2 separate regions of the Homo sapiens genome follow, and region 2 is linked to region 1. The links are contacts of gene promoters, found by promoter capture Hi-C in human tissues and cell types (Jung and others, 2019). All regions are on one chromosome and are shown on one strand. The core of a region is centred on a gene start or on the middle of the fragment in contact, and the rest is flanking DNA. Distances in the headings are between cores, read along the strand shown. Region 1 holds the start of DOCK7 (dedicator of cytokinesis 7). Region 2 overlaps LOC105378768 (a long non-coding RNA gene).

What was found. Contacts are between HindIII fragments. The study calls those that stand out against the background at their distance.
Region 2: a contact is called between a fragment that was not itself captured here and the fragment with the promoter of DOCK7 in region 1, in 1 of the 25 tissues and cell types used here (IMR-90 fibroblasts).

What each region holds. Positions count from the first base shown.
Region 1 is chr1:62,684,390-62,690,038 of GRCh38, forward strand. DOCK7 (dedicator of cytokinesis 7) reads right to left here and starts at 3,997. Exons shown (of 50, transcript NM_001367561.1): 1 at 3,838-3,997. The coding sequence starts at 3,875. It overlaps DOCK7-DT (DOCK7 divergent transcript), which reads left to right and starts at 4,093. Exons shown (of 2, transcript NR_185999.1): 1 at 4,093-4,263. RefSeq lists a silencer at 3,350-4,099 and an enhancer at 5,109-5,403. The HindIII fragment of the contact is 7,491 bases long and covers 1,866-5,649 here.
Region 2 is chr1:62,427,044-62,432,461 of GRCh38, forward strand. It overlaps LOC105378768 (a long non-coding RNA gene), which reads left to right. Exons shown (of 3, transcript XR_007066146.1): 2 at 3,602-3,661; 3 at 4,466-4,547. Among named protein-coding and RNA genes, the nearest start is that of USP1, 7.3 kb to the right of the region's middle. The HindIII fragment of the contact is 6,748 bases long and covers 1-5,418 here.

The DNA.
Region 1 (5,649 bases), core at 2,747-5,246:
ACTACTAATGCATTATTAGAACTGTATTAGCTCACTTACACATGTATTAACTCATTTAATCCTCACATTAACTTTATTGAGGCTGTTATCCCCATTTTTCTGTGGTATATGCAGAATTTCAACCTGTGCAATCTGATCCCAGATCCTATATTCTTTAGTACATTTTCTGCCTCTCTGGGTTATGAAGATGAGAATGCAGTAAAAAGTGCTTTAAGTGTACACAAATGTTCATCATTACTGCTGAGTATCAAGCAACAGGACAAAATAATCCCAACAAAATCCTAGACAATTTGTCTACAGTCTACATTCCATAAATCCATGGGCCTTATCCTCAAAAAGCAAAGGGGACACACATGTACAAAGACAACTACTTGATATGGACAAGATATACATGCTGCTTTTCTATGGTGAGCTGAAGTAAACAGTATAATTAGTGATAATAAGAATAAAGAGCCTTCAGAAATCACCAAATCACAGCCTCAAAAAATAACTGCACTAAATGCAAGGGGCTAAAAAATAACTGCGACAGAAACAAGATCATTATAATTCTTTTTAAAGTATAGGTTTCTGAACAATCACAAAGCTTTGAAAAGAAATAAGGTTTCAAACAGCAACAGGCTTTTCACAGAGCAACAAATTTCATATACGAACACTAGGAAAAGGATTATCATTTCCAACAAAAGCCTCAAACCACATTATAAATACTGTAGTAAAAAACAGTTGATACTTACTAGGCACTTAGAGCACTGTTCTAAGCACTTTAGAGGTAACAATTCATTTAATCCCCACAACAACCCTACGAGGTTAAGTCTTACCATCATCCTCATTTTCTAGATAGGGAAAACGAGGCAGAAGTGTGGTCAAGTAACTTGGCCATGTTTACTCAACGAGTGGCTGTGCTGGGGTGTCAAACCCAGGAACTTCATCTCCAGAATTTGTGCTATACTTCCTCTAATAGAAAAGTTAAAAAGCAGAACACGAATTGATTCAGAAGTATTAAGTATTATTCAATCATATTTGATAACAAGGAAGAACCTTTCATTCACAATAAGCAGTTAATAATGCATTACTCATAGCAGTTCTGTCTTTGGTATTCCTTCCAAGTTAAGTCTGCACATTCTCACTGGACAATCTCATCAACCCCCACCCACCCCCGGGCTCCAAATGCAATCTACTTGCTGATAACTCTCAAATCTAGATCTCCAGCCCAATCTCTCTTCTGCACCTTCAACCTGCACCAAAAACCAAATAGATATTTCTCTCTGAATGATTCATGAGCCCCTCAAAATTAACATGTCCAAAACTGAATCATCATCTCCATCCCACTTGCATCTCCCAATCTCAAACTCCTTTTTCCTCCTGTACTCCCTTACCCCAAAGACTGCCACCATCATCCACGTGGTTGCCCAACTTAGGATGTCATCCCAGACTCCTCAGTCCGCCTCACCTTGCATGTCCAATCACCAATCACTACCATATCCACCTCCTGTCTGTCCAATAAGTGCACATTTCTTCATTCACATTATCTTAATTTTATAACTTCTTAGAAAGCTGTTCTTATTTGCATTTTGTGTTGTTTTGCACAACTGATTCTCTTTTTCTCTTGTGGTTTGTCCTATCCCATCTGGTGGCGAACTCCACTAATAGACATACAATTTCATATCCAACTCTCTAAAGTGCACTTACTTTATCAGCATGATGTTTTCAGAGATAAACTTCTGGTTCTAATAAGAGAAATTAAAACTAGGAATACATGTCAAGTAATAACTTTTTTTTTTTTTTTTTTTTTTTTTTTTTTTTTTTGAGACGGAGTCTCGCTCTGTCGCCCAGGCCGGACTGCGGACTGCAGTGGCGCAATCTCGGCTCACTGCAAGCTCCGCTTCCCGGGTTCACGCCATTCTCCTGCCTCAGCCTCCCGAGTAGCTGGGACTACAGGCGCCCGCCACCGCGCCCGGCTAATTTTTTGTATTTTTTTTTTTTAGTAGAGACGGGGTTTCACCTTGTTAGCCAGGATGGTCTCGATCTCCTGACCTCATGATCCACCCGCCTCGGCCTCCCAAAGTGCTGGGATTACAGGCGTGAGCCACCGCGCCCGGCCAGTAATAACATTTTTTAATGACATCATCATCAGAAGTAAGACCTAATTATTTTACAAAAAAAAAAAATTTCCTGTCATCATAACTCCCTGGGAGAAACTAATTACTACAAGTGTTTGATGACAGGTAGTATAGGCCCTGTACTATCCTACGCACATTACACAAATTATGCCACTTAATGTTCACAACAACACTATGAGCTGGGTCCTATTATTATTCTCATTTGCCAGACGAGGAAACGGAAATTTGGCCCAACAACTTGGCCAAAGTCCCAAGCTAGAAAATACCAATCAGGATTTGAACCCATGTCGGGGTCTGAGAGTAGAGCCCATGCTCTTAAACACTTGCTATTTTGCCCCTTCAGGAAAAAAAAAGTGCTAGAACGCTGGAAAGAAAGAAAAAAAAAAGCCTCTGCCTCGAAAGCAGCTAGGACGACAGGTGCAACACCACACCTGGCTAATTTTTTTGCAGAGATGGGGTGGGGGGGACTCGCTATGTTGCCCAGGCTGGTCTTGAACTCCTGGCCTCAAGCGATCCTCCTGCCTCGGCCTCCCAAACTGCTGGGATTACAGGCCTGAGCCACTGCATCCGGCCCAAAATTTTTAAAGAAATGTCAGCAAACTAAAAAGACTCAGAGCCACAGAACTACAACTGCCCCAAAACAAAAAAAGGTAATTTAATATGAATGCTTCTTTTCTTGGGACATCATAATTCACACAAATATGATTTTATTAAAACAAAAATGTCTACTGTCTCATACATAAGTATACTCCACAAAGAAATTCTACAAATATTAGAGTCCTCTGTCATTTAATTTTTATTTGGCGGGTGGGAGAAAGGTGGCAACCAACCACCACAAGTAGGTGAAAGGCTTTGAAACCTCCACCTCAATCACTTGCTTTACTTCAAGACTGCAATCACTTGCTTTACTTCAAGACTGCTAACATATAAAAGGATGTCAGTGTATAAAGAACACTGCCTATCATCCATCTTCTCGGGTGCTCTGAGAAACACAGGCGCACAGTTAAATTCACAGGCGAACTCAGAACAAGCTTCAGCCTGCAATCCGTCAGGGATTCGGCAGCTGCACACCGAAGGTGCAGCCCGCAGCTCTCAACTTTTCATTCTGTCCACACGTTTTCAATCCTGGACGCACAAGTCCACTTTGAACCTGGCCCGAGGGTGCAAAGAGGGTTCCTGTCAGATTTCTCAGGAAGAGAGAGACGCGTGAAGGAGGGGCGGCCTCCCACCCGCCCCGAGCCGCCGCGCGTTTCTCCTTTTGTTGGGGTGGAGGAGGGCGGACCCCGCACCCTCTAGGGGCCAAGAGGGGTGGGCGGAGAGACGGGAGGGGGCGAAACGCCGCGGCGGCCCCCGACGAGCCCGGGGGTGGGAACACAAAGAATTTGGGAAGCGGCCGACCGCCCTTCCATAAACCTCCGCAGAAGTCCAGGCCCGGGCCGCCGAGGAGCAGGAGGAGGCGGGCGCGCTGGAGTCCGCGGCCCTCTCCGCTCCCTGCCGAGGCTCAGCGGCGGGCGCGGGCTGAAGGCCGGGGTTCGAGGGCGGCGCGAGGCCTCCGCTACCCCCTCAGCCACCCCGAACCCCTTCCGCCCCGCCGCGAGCCAGGCCGCGGGATCCCGGTGCCGGCCCCGCCACACCCACCCGCCTCCTAGGCCAGGCCTGGGAGGACTCCGCGGCTCTTTCTCGGGCGGCGGCGGCGGCGCGCCCCACGCCGGATATTTACCTGCTGATCTTCTGGGCGAAGGCGCGGCGCTCGGCCATGGCTGCTGCGGCGACGGCGACGGCGGCGGCGGCTGCGGCGGGCCGGGTGCGGACCGGCGGGCGCGTGCCTCCTCGCTCGTGCTCCCTCCCTCGCGGCCTCCGCCAGTCCGGGCTCCGGACCTGGGAGGCTGGGGCTGGCGGCCGGAGCCAGGAACGAGCCCTGCCGTAATGTTCCTTAGAGGCGCGCAACGAGAAACCGCTCCTCCCCCAGCGCGTCAATCCCGGCGGGAACCCCGGCTGCGGAAGGCGGCTGCGGCCGGCGGGAGCCGAGGGGAAGAATGGAGCGCTGAGGAAGCGAGGCGCCAGCCCCAGCCGCTTCGCTGCCGCGGAGCCTGCACGACCGAGAGGTCGCGGAGAGAAGCCAGAGACAGGCCAGCGACCTGGCGAGGCAAGAAAATAAGATAACCGAACGCGTAGGGGGAGCTTGGCTTTCCCGAAATGGAAGGGAAGGAAATGAAAGGTGGGCTTTGCCGAGGGGGCTGTGCTTTAACCAAAGCCCTGGATGACTGGGTTCATGTTTCTGCAGCACCGGTCTCCGAGCTTTTTAAAGCACTTGGGTTTCTGCTTCGGCCTCATGAATGCAGCCTAACTGGAGAAACAGTGGTTTTTCTTATAGAGAAAGAGCCAGAAAATACCTTGCTCCTGCAGCGATAACAATAGTAATAGTTGACTTCTGGTGCTTAGCCAGCCACTGGATTAAAGTTTTTCAAGCACGAGCGCTTTGAAGTAGATCGTTACTATCACTATTTTAGAGGGAAGGAAATTGGCTTGGAAAAGCTAAGTGACTGGCCCCAGGTCGCACAGATGGTAAACTCTTCCACTGAGACTCAAACCCAGAGCCGGTTCTTTTCTTTGAGGACAGTTGTTTCCGTATTATTAACCCCTTTTGGATCTCTCTCTGTCTCTCATACATACATATATATATATATATATATATATATATATATATATATATATATATATATAAAATCCAGGTGAGCTCTAACGTTCACCCCCATTTTGATGTTCTGTTAAATAAGCTCTGTGTTGACCACTGAAACTGACCTTGTCCATAATAGCCTATAAAACAGAGACTAGCAGAGATTTGTTTTCATCTGTTCTGTTGTAATCCCATAATGTCTAGAATATTTGGCTCCTAATGCATATCTGTTGATACTGAAATTATGGTGACACTAAGAAAAATATCTTGGTTTCTTGTAGTACCTTTCCTCTTAAGTATTGCAAGAACTTAAAATGTGTATTTATTTATTGTTATTATTATATTCTCAGTATGTCCTGGTGGAATATGTTGGATACCTGTTTTCCTCTCTTTTACCATTGGAAAATCTGTAGCTTGGAGCCATTAGGTCACTTGCCAGAGTCACACACTGAGTCAGAGGTGAAAGCCTCAATTAGTCAGATCCATAACTTCCTGTCTAGTGCTGTAACTTCTGTGGAAGACTGTGTATTTATATAACAATGCTCATTGCAGTAACACACTGCTTTTATTTATTGATTTATTTATTTTAGACAGAATCCCCCTGTGTTGCTCAAGCATGGAATGCATAGGGCACTGCAGCCTAAAACTCCTAGGCTCAAGCAATCCTCTTGCCTCAGCCTCTGGAGGAGTAGCTAGTACCACAGGCTCTTGCCAAGGCGCCCTCCAGTAACACACTGTTTTCAGATGCTTGTTTACTAAAGGAAAAGATAGTCTATTCAAAGAGGACAGATATTTGGCTTCTACCTAAGTATAGAGCCCACCTAGGTGTTCTAAAAAACACGAAGGTGAACTAGA
Region 2 (5,418 bases), core at 1,939-4,438, 260 kb before region 1:
CCTGTCTCTAAAAAAAAAGAAAATTCAAAGTTATACATGTACATGAGTTAAAGGTTTCAACATATCTTCCTATCCTCCAAGGCAACCATTTTCAACTTTTGACTGATTCTTTGGTATTTACCTTCACATGTCTAAATAACATGTTTAGGCCAGGCATGGTGGCTCACACCCATAATCCCAGCACTTTGGGTGGCTGGGGTGGGTGGATCACTTAAGCTCAGGAGTTCGAGAACAGCCTGGGCAACACAGTGAAACACTGTCTTTACAAAAACGACACCAAAAAATTAGCCGGGTATAGTGGAGTGGGCCTGTAGTTCCAGCTATGCAGAAGGCTGTGGTGGGAGGATCATTTGAGCATCGGAGGTTGAGGCTGCAGTAAGCCGTGATTGTACCACTGCACTCCAGGATGGGCGACAGAGACCCTGTCTTAAACAAAACAAAACAAAACAAAACAAAACAAAACAAAACAACTATGTTTATATTTCTTCTTCTTGATTTTTTAGTTACCATTTTGTCGATTTCCCAATACAGAAGATGAGGATTTAGCTTTCTTTTGTACACTCCTTTGCATCTCCACCAATCATGTACACTTTCAGTTCTTTAATTCTCCTGAAACTTATAATTTGCTCATCCTGCACAATCAAGAGGACGTAATTGATGTAGTAGATCAATGTGATGCAGGATGTCCAGAAGGTCCAGATCTTTTCAGGCTATTTTATGATAGAGGGCAGGAATACTGTTAATATAGCCCTGGAACCAAACCGTAAATGTGTACTTTTTTTTAATAAAAAAGAAATAGACTTTGGGCAGCCTAGACGGGCAGATCACAAGGTCAGGAGATCGAGACCATCCTGGCTAACATGGTGAAACCTCATCTCTACTAAAAATACAAAAAATTAGCCAGGTGTGGTGGCAGGCACCTGTAGTCCCAGCTACTTGGGAGGCTGAGGCAGAAGAATGGTGTGAACCCGGGAGGCGGAGCTTGCAGTGAGCCGAGATTGCGCCACTGCACTCCAGCCTGGGCGACAGAGTGAGACTCCGTCTCAAAAAAATAAATAAATAAAAAGAAATAGGGTCTAGCTTTGTCACCCAGGCTGGAGTGCAGTGGTACAATTGTAGCTGACTGTAGCCTCAAATTCCTGGACTCAAGCGATCCTACCACTTCAGCCTCCTGAGTAGCTGGGAGATGCTCACCACTACGTCCAGCTAATTAATTTTTTTTTTAACGTAAAGATAGGATCTCACTCTGTTGCCCACACTGGTCTTGAACTCCTGGCTTCAAGCAATTCTCCTGCCTTGGCCTCCCAAAATGCTGGGATTACAGGCATGAGCAACCACATCCAGCCAATGTGCACTTTTGTCTGTTTCATGGAATGCCACTGTTTCTGATCCTTTCTTACGATTGGAATAGAAAAGAATGCATTCACTAAAATCAGTGGTGCATACCAAATATCTGAGGATGTATTAATCAACTCTAGCAAATACACCACATCTGTCATGACAGCTGCGATCAGGCCTACTAATGGGTTGTACTTGCAGTAATCTACTGTCATCCTTCAGAGTCCATCTATTTTTGCCGGGCCATATGGTGAATTAAACAGAGATATGATGGGAATCAGCACCTCTGTTTCCTTTAAAATCTTAAGAGTGACACGAATTCCTGCCATCTTCTCTTGAGATATAATATTGTTTGATTTCCTGTATGTGTTTCCTATGTGTCCCCCCAAAATTCATATGTTGAAGCCCTAACCCGCAGTATGATAGTATTTGGAGGTAGGGTCTCTGGGAGATAACTAGGTTTAGATTATATCTTAGTCCATTTGGGCTGCTATAACAGAATACCATAGACTGTGTGGCTTATAAACAACAGAAATTTATTTCTAATAGTTCTAGAGGCTAGGAAGTCTAAGATTGAGGCACTGACAGATTCTGTATGTGGTGAAGTCTTCCTGGTTCAAAGATAGGTGTCTTCTTGTTGCATCTCAGCCTGGGGAAAGTGTGAGGGCACTCTCTGGGGTCTCTTTAACTGATATCATTCCTTAATCATCTCCCAAACACCTCACCTCCAAATACCATCATGCCGGGCATTAGGTTTCAACATGAATTTTAGGGAACACAGAAGGTCATGAGGGTAAAGCCCCCACCATGGGATTAGTATCCTTATAGTAAGAGGAAGAATTCAGAATTCAGAATTCCCTCTCTACACACTCACACTGAGAAAGGGCCATGTGAGGACACAGCAAAAAGGTGGTTGTCTGCAGGCTAGAAAGAGCTCTCACCAGAAACTGAATCTGCTGGGACTTTGATCTTGGACTCTCCAGCCTCCAATACTATGAGAAGTAAATGTCTGTTGTCTAAATTTCCCAGTATATAGTATTTTGTTATAGCAGACTGAGCTGACTAAGAGACTGTGCCATGTTTCTCTGGAGCTGGGAAGCAGTTTCAAAGGCTTTCACTTGGCCTTCCCCACCATTATAGCTTTTACCCCATAGGCAAAAGTCCTAATGCATTTGCATCAATTGCCAAAAATGACAACTCCATTATACATTTGAAGAGTGGGGAAATGATAATTAGTTGTGGTCACAGATCCAGTAGTAAACTCACTCTGAGCCGGACCTTGCCATGACTCCATTTATTAACTGGCTTCTTTATGCCCCCATTATAACAGAAGGCCACGATGATGCTTGTGGTCTGTGGATAACAAGTTAAATTCATACCCTCTGTCTCACAATCCTTGGCATGTTTGGGTATGTCCATTTCCCCAGGGTACAATTACCCAAGTAAATGACTAAAGATCCCTTTGGGGAAGGACTGAGGAAACCATTACCATTTATACTTGTTGAGGTATAGCAAAGTCCTTCCTCCTGGCCTCTTCAGTCAATGGGTTCCAGGTCTAAAAATGCTCTGGTCTGGAAACTAAGGAATTGACTATTGGGTGACTATCCTTAGCATCCTGGTCATCTATCCTTAACTTTTTTTTCCCCACTGGTACAAAATAATAGAGCTTAGTTGGTTGTCTATCTATTTTGCCCCTAAAGACGCCACCATCTAGTAACCATTTCTATAACTCTCTGAGGGTCAAGTCCCCTTGGTAGGTCATTATAATTGCGACCTCCTGGCTTCTAGTAATTAAGCACTGCCAGTTGGCCAGTATTGTTTTGGGGTCTATCATCTCCATTGCTATCAGTGAGTCAAAGTCTGGGAGGCCTCTGCTACCATCAGTCCTGGCTTGCAGAGAGCCACCACTGAGGTTTTTAGTGATGTTTATGTCCTTTGCACCAGTGCATTCCCTAATGGCCTTGGTAAATGGTGTGTCCTCTGGGCCTTCCCTCAGAACATAATGATCATAACCTTCCAGGCGTACGTAATATATCCACTCCAGCAGACCCATTTCTGTCAACCTTTTAATCCCTTTTTGAGCCACCTGCCTGCCCTAGCACTCCTAGCATTTCGTTTTCTTTTCCCATGCTTTTAGGAGCCATTGTAGTAGTTAGTGAATGTTCACGTCAATTCTTGGGGGTCCTTGGCAGAATATTAAATCCTGTATTTGGGAGAATACTCCAAATTCAATATAACTTTCCCATTCAATTTTATGTTCTAGCTCCCCTTGCTTAAGCATCATCTGAATCCAGCCCCATGTACTCTTCTGAAGCTCCTGTTGGTACGTGCTTGTCTAGGTCTTACATCTTCTTTGGGGAACAGTCATTTACCTCTACCCATCAGGTACAGCACCTTCCCAACTAGGTTATGCTATGATTTAACCCTAATTATAGATCTACTGGCTAGAAGGCTAGATGACAGGTGTGAGTGCTGGCGGAAGGGAGAACATGCCTTTCAAGTAGAAGCCTCTGCAATGTCTTCTAGTACAGGAAAGTGATAGCTCTGAGTAGGGAGGAGGGGCCACACTGCAGGCTTCAGAGGAGCCTGGGGAATCAAAATTTTCATGATCACTACCCAGATGGACCCTCCATGTGTCAGGGTGCTAGATTTTCTCAACCATGACCCTGACTTTGACACAACAGACCTATTTTAGGCATTTAACCATCTTTTAAGTTTGACCACTCTAAAGTAGTCTTGATGCTCAGCTTTCTCCACCCTTCCCCTGCAGATGAGAGCTGTTTTTTATGCAACGAACAGGTGCTCTGGCTTTCACACCAGACCTTCAATTGCTTATTACCTACCCTTAGCTGTTTTTTATTTTTCTGTAACCAATGGAGTTTAGCAATAGCCATCCAATTCTATTATTCTTATAGCTACAACTTCCACCATATATGTTAACTGCCAGATATATCACACCTGCAAGTGCATTCTCTTCCACCTGGTACATCATCCTGATTGGACCATTACCTTGTGCCAGGAGCTGACTATGCTTCACCTACCACCTGCTAGGTAGTCTATAATTCAGCTCCCAAACCTCATCTGGTTGTCTACTTTCTCCAACCAATCCTCGTACTAATTCTTGCAGGCAGCCTTCTTGAGGAGCAGGTGCAGAGAGAGACAAAGCTGGAGCATAAGATGTGAAAGGAAGGGAGAGGAAGTAGGACTGGTAAGAGAATGAAGTCAAATTCCAGTACAGGTCCAATAAAGCTTTGGCCAGCCTCGCTAAGAGCTCTGGAGTGAATACTGCCCATCAGAGGTGTCCAGTGGTGGCCATAATGGCTGAGCCTTTATAGTCCAGCCTTGCTTAATCACCCAGTTTAGGCTGCAGAGAGCATGACTGTGGGCAAGGCCATTGTCTGCGATTGAAGCAGAGTCTGATGGAACTGACAACTGGAGGTAGTCTTTGCAGCTTGGGAGCAAGTCCCTCCTTGAAGGGGGATCTGGGCAGCTCATCTCCATATCTACCACAAGGGCAAACAGATACCCAGCATATTCTCTTTTCAAGGAACCAAAAGCTGTACAGTACTTTTCCATTTTTCATCTTTTGGGGATATCTTCACCAGCTGGGGATTTTTTTTTAACCTGGTAAGGGAGGCATAGCAGAGAATGCTATTTGTCCTCTAATATCCATTCTATCCTTCTTCCTTAATATTATAACCCCTGATTTTTAGTTGGGTATATAGCCACCCAGAATAATGTTGTCAAATGACTAAGTTCTGGCCAATGGGCTATAAGTAGGAATGGTGTGTACAGCTTCCAGGAAGTATCCTTAAAGAGAGGGGACCATGGTCATCTCTGTCCTTTTTTCTTTCCTGCATAGGACTGTAGACATGATGGCTGGAATTTAAACAGCTATAAAGGACCGAAAGGTAGAAGCCACATGTTGAGAATGGAAGAAATTAATTAGGTCCCTGATGGTCACAGAACCACCATACTAATCTAGACTGCCTACTTCTGCATTATGTATACATGATAAAGACATGAATATTAATTTTAGCTAAGGACACTTAAAAATATTCTGTTACTTATAAACAAACC